Regions from separate parts of the Homo sapiens genome. Here region 2 is linked to region 1. Evidence: promoter capture Hi-C in human tissues and cell types (Jung and others, 2019). All regions are on one chromosome and are shown on one strand. Each heading gives the region's core, a stretch centred on a gene start or on the middle of the fragment in contact. The rest is flanking DNA. Distances are from core to core; before and after follow the strand shown. Region 1 holds the start of CCL19 (C-C motif chemokine ligand 19). Region 2 has its middle 14 kb from the start of SPATA31F3.

Region 1 (2,809 bases), core at 211-2,710:
AGCTAAGGGCTTTACTCAGGGTTCCTCACTTAATCCTAAGAAGTAGATCTTCTACCATTCCCATTTTACAAATAAGGACACTAAGACACAGAAACTGGAGAATTTTCACCTTGTCGCAGTTAGTAAGTGGTGGAATCTGAATCCCAAGCTAGGCGCTCTGTCTGCAGAGTCTCCCTCCTCTGCACCGTGACTACCCGTGCTGTGCCATGACCAAGTGGCAGACAGGCGGTGTGGAGTGGAGGTAAAGACTGCAAACCCTAGAGCACACCTGGGTCCAAATCATGCTCCAGTACTTACTAGCTGTGTGGCTTTGTGCTCTGAGCCTCATGTTCCTTATGTGTAAAATAAGAATAATAATGTGAAAATAAGAAAAACTACATCAATGGTATTGTTTTGGGAAAGTTAAGCAAGGTAATAGTGGTAAAGTCCTTGACATAGAGCCTAGCACATAGTAAACAATCAAAAATACCATTACTATTATTATGATTAATGAATGGAAAGAAGCTAAGTCAGAAATTTAAGAGGGAAATGTTCCCCCTCCCTCTCTCCATCCAAAAGAGGGTCTAGGGTTTGGGTGACGACGGGTGACTGGGCGTTTCACATTTAGTTTCTCTTTCAAGGCCTTCTCTTCTGACCTTTCTCATAAGGATGGGAAGTCACTTGTCCCCTCCCCCATCGGCCGATTCCTTGAAATTTTAAGATTTGTCTGAATATGAGCTGGCCAGCCCCTCTCCTTAGAAATCCCCTCTTGGTTCCCAGGACTGAGAAAAGGGGGAAAATGAAGGGGGCTATTCCAAGCCAGTCTCCCTCCAGCTGTTCCTTTGACCCAGGTGTTGGACATAGGAAAACAGTAAATAGAGGAAGGGGAGGGTTTGCTGAGCCCCAGAGGCCTGAGATGTGGGATGGGGGTCCTGGGCCTCCTCCCAAGGTACCTGGCCTTTCAGCTCTGCTTGCCCCAAGGGAAGGACTGGTTCCCACATAGTGGGCAGGCACAGTGATGACCTTGGAGGCCACCCCAGGATCTCATGGTTGTCCTGAGGGTGCCAGGGAGCCTTCTTCACCACCAGCCCAAGAAAGAAGCACCAGTGAGGACAAGGGATAAACCTAAGGAAGGGAGCACAGTTCCTCACTGTGGGCCCCACCTTTGACCATCACTTCTGAACCCCAGCTTCATGGTTGATGATGCAAATGCCATCAATGGGATGACAGGGCAATCCCTCTCTCTGGAGAAACAGTGCACAGCCCCCTTTACTGGGCCAGACTGCAGACTTAAGTTCTCAGAGCAGGAGCCAAGGAAAGCAGAAGGAAAGGGCAACCGCAGGGGGAAGAAGGGGGGCAGGGTGCGATTCTGCCAGAAAGAGGGGGGCAACAGGGGAATCACAGAATGGGACATGAAGGGGAATTTCAGGCAGAGAAAGTGAAGCTCTGGCCATAAATAGGAGTCAGCTGCAGGGCTCACATTCCCAGCCTCACATCACTCACACCTTGCATTTCACCCCTGCATCCCAGTCGCCCTGCAGCCTCACACAGATCCTGCACACACCCAGACAGCTGGCGCTCACACATTCACCGTTGGCCTGCCTCTGTTCACCCTCCATGGCCCTGCTACTGGCCCTCAGCCTGCTGGTTCTCTGGACTTCCCCAGGTAAGGCTGAAGGGAGAGTCAGGGTCAGAGGCAGTGGGGGGCTGGCAGTGGGTAATGTCTAGATCTCAGATTGCTTGGCACTGGACGTAAGGGACATGGTGAGTTCAGGCAAATGCTTAGGTCTGTATATTTCGGTGAGCCTGGCAGGTCCCTGCATGTGTGCCTGTAAGTGTGGGTGTCCCTGTGCCCCTGAATCCCAATGCGGGTGTGTCTTTTAGCACATCCTGGGGCCTATGGCTGTGACTGTCTCTGCAAGCTCTATTTCCTGCTGCCTCCGTTTCCCAGGCAGAAGGAGATTTGCTTAAGGTAGGGAGAATGGCAGACACTAAGCCAAGGCTGATATTCAAAAATTTTAGCAATTAATAAGGCTCCTAACACCAGCCTACCCTACCCCACGCCCCTCCCACACTGTGACCTGCATTAACTCTTTACTTGCTGGATTGTCCTGGGAGAGAGGTTGGGGTGATCAGGGCAGCAGGAAGTCATTTGTGGGGCTCAGGGCAGTGGTTATTTACAAAACAGTTTAGAAGTATGACAATATATTTAGCAACCAGTAGAGCCAGAGCCATATTGGTGCATAATGGCTGAATACCAGGTCTAACTCCTCCCCGACCCCACCAGACACACACACACACACACACACACACACACACACACACACACACAGGTGTCCTCAATCCGAGCTAGGGCCATGGCCATGCCACCCTCAAGGGTCCCTGTGTCCTGTCACCTTCTTTCCCCATCCCAGCCCCAACTCTGAGTGGCACCAATGATGCTGAAGACTGCTGCCTGTCTGTGACCCAGAAACCCATCCCTGGGTACATCGTGAGGAACTTCCACTACCTTCTCATCAAGGATGGCTGCAGGGTGCCTGCTGTAGTGTGAGTTGTGGGGAGGGTGTCTAGCCTCATCTCCCGTTTTAGCCCCTGTTGAGACTCCCACCTTCTTATTCCCCTTCTCCATGCCAAGCCCAACCCCTTCAAGGAAATCCCTGAAACAGGTTCCCAGACATGGTCCCCAGGCATGCTGGATTCTGGGGCTCCATTCTCTCCGGCCTCTCACCCCAGGTTCACCACACTGAGGGGCCGCCAGCTCTGTGCACCCCCAGACCAGCCCTGGGTAGAACGCATCATCCAGAGACTGCAGAGGACCTCAGCCAAGGCA
Region 2 (2,809 bases), core at 216-2,715, 220 kb before region 1:
CTATCTCAATTGAAAAAAAAAAAGAAGACAAGATACAAGTCATATATATCTAAAGATAAATATGCCATTATTTTCTATAGGGTAAACTAAAAGTTAGAGACTCTGAATCATGACAAAACCCCTTAGTCTTTAAATCTATTTCTTTTTATCTCATAACTTAGTAACATAGACTACTATGTAAATACACTTTTAAGTGTTCACAAAAAGAAACCCTAACAGTTTAATAAAGATTTTAGACTTTAAAAACATTTACTTACATATTTTAATTGACAAATACAAATTATATATGTTTATCATGTATGTTGTTTTGAAATATACATTATGAAATGGCTAATTTGAGCTAATTAACATTTGTACTACCTCACATACTTATTTTGTATGTATGTAGCGAGAACACTTAAAATCTACTCTCTTAGAAATTTTCAAGATCTTTTAGACATTTTTGGCTGCTTATCTGGACTAGTTATTCCTAGAGTATGCACGTAATAACAGAGTGACTTTTATTTCTAAGTTAATTTTTAATGTTTTCCAAGAGAGGGGAAAAAAGGAGGGAAAGGAACAGAACAAAAGAGAGGAGATCCTCATTAGCATAGTGGTGAGCCAAAAAAAAAGAGGCAAAACTGGCTTCAGACAAATATGAATACTGTAGAAGACTAATTATATTCCTTCTTCAAGGAGAGGAGAGAAAGCTTAGATGCAGGAAAACCCATTTTCACATATAGACATACAACAGAGAGTTATTATGGCTGGTTGAAACAGTAGCTCTGACCTTCCACAATTTTATAAGTGATACAATTTAAAAGCCAGCATTTATTAACTCCTGAAGTACAGAAATGAAGGAGGGGTGTCTTCTACATGAAACAAAACAATCACTCCATCTTAATCAGGCAAGATGAAAAACCTCCTTAAAAGGATTTCTTCGGCTGGGCGCGGTGGCTCACGCCTGTAATCCCAGCACTTTGGGAGGCTAAGGCGGGCAGATCACGAGGTCAGAAGATGAGATCCAGACCATCCTAGCTAACACAGTGAAACCCCGTCTCTACCAAAAAACAGAAAAAATTAGCCAGGCATGGTGGCGGATGCCTGTAGTCCCAGCTACTCGGGAGGCTGAGGCAGGAGAATGGCGTGAGCCCGGGAGGCGGAGCTTGCAGTGAGCCGAGATCGCGCCACTGCACTCCAGCCTGGGCGACAGAGCGAGACTCCGTCTCAAAAAAAAAAAAAAAGGATTTCTTCTCTTTATGTTCTAAGGTACCTCTCAAAAGAACAAAGTAGTCTCTGTAAATAGTTCACTTAAGTGTTTGCTGCAATTGCAAACGGTCCCTGGTAAAATTGTGACAGACAGAGAAGCATACAAGATAATGTGATAGTGAGAAACCATACAGGAATTGAGCATTTGGCCTAGATGAGGCTCAGTTTGGGATGAGGCAGAACACGTGAAATGTCAATGGTCCATAGGATGGTGCTTGTCCAGAGCTTGGCCAAAGGCCAGGCTGCCACTGATGACAGGCTAGCTAAACCTCCCAAGTTGGGCAGACAAAACTAAACAAATTAGTCCCCAAAGACACAAAGATAAGATAAGGGAAGAGCCAGGTATAGCGGTGTGCTCTTGCAATCCCAGCTGTTTAGGAAGCTTGAGCCTGAGAGTTCGAGGCCAGCCTAGTCAACATAGTGAGACCCCATCTCTTAAAAAAGAGAAAAAGGGGGCCGGGCATGGTGGCTCACCTGTAATCCCAGCGCTTTGGGAGGCTGAGGCAGGTGGACCACAAGGTCAGGAGTTTGAGACCAGCCTGACCAACATGGTGAAACCCCATCTCTACTAAAAATACAAAAAATTAGCCGGGCATGGTGGCAGGCACCCTGTAATCCCAGCTACTTGGGAGGCTGAGGCAGGAGAATTGCTTGAACCTGGGAGGTGGAGGTTGGAGTGAGCCAAGATCGCACCACTGCACTCCAGCCCAGGCGACGACGTGAGACTCTGTCTCAAAAAAAGAAAAAAAAAAAAAAAGAAAAGAAAAGAAAAGAAAAAAAGGATGAGGTAAGATAAAATAAGATTGAGAAAGAAGTCCTTATAAGGATTTGAAGTGGTGACCCGAGACAAAGTCTGTCCAAAGGACACCATACTATGGAGGCTTTCTGAAGTCCTCAACCCCTTGTGTACTGGCTTGAGGGACTGTCTTATTGGATCTTTACCTGTCTTCTCCCTATAGATGTTTCCTGTTCCCTTTTCCCAGAGACATGCATGAGTTGCTCCCTTATCTCCTACTGGTCTTTGCTCCAATATCATCTTCTCAGACCTCCCCTTGCCACCTATTAAAAATGACAAATCTTGTTTATACTCTTGACTTAGTCTCTTCTTTATTTTTCTCCACTGCACTTATCACCATCTAACATACTACATATTTTCCTATTTGTTTGCTTTCTCTCTCCTTCCACTAGAATGAAAGCTCCCAGAGGGATTTTTTTTTCTGTTTCCGTCTTGACTATAACAATGCCTTTCACATAAACAAATGTACCCAATTTAAATTTGAGGGATCAATGAATTGTCTATGGCAGTGGCAGTGAAGACAAAAGCCTTAAATGGAGCCTAAAATATCCTTACAACAAGAAGTGCCCCTTCCTCAATTACAAAACATTTGTTTCTGGGGTATGGTATTAGTTCCATAAGCTAGAAGAGAAAACTTACAGCAGGTGAAAACTACTGTGAAGAGGCCGGGTGTGGCAGCTCACGCCTATAATCCCAGCACTTTGGGAGGCCGAGGCGGGCAGATCACGAGGTCGGGAGTTCGAGACCAGCCTGACCAACATGATG

The links. Contacts are between HindIII fragments. The study calls those that stand out against the background at their distance.
Region 2: a contact is called between a fragment that was not itself captured here and the fragment with the promoter of CCL19 in region 1, in 3 of the 25 tissues and cell types used here (heart left ventricle, hippocampus and mesendoderm cells).

The regions. Positions count from the first base shown.
Region 1 is chr9:34,689,927-34,692,735 of GRCh38, reverse strand. It overlaps CCL19 (C-C motif chemokine ligand 19), which reads left to right and starts at 1,460. Exons shown (of 4, transcript NM_006274.3): 1 at 1,460-1,645; 2 at 2,394-2,526; 3 at 2,713-2,806. The coding sequence starts at 1,597. It also overlaps a transcript of PHF24 not described here. The HindIII fragment of the contact is 19,341 bases long and covers 1-2,809 here.
Region 2 is chr9:34,908,039-34,910,847 of GRCh38, reverse strand. It overlaps a transcript of PHF24 not described here. Among named protein-coding and RNA genes, the nearest start is that of SPATA31F3, 14 kb to the right of the region's middle. The HindIII fragment of the contact is 3,933 bases long and covers 1-2,809 here.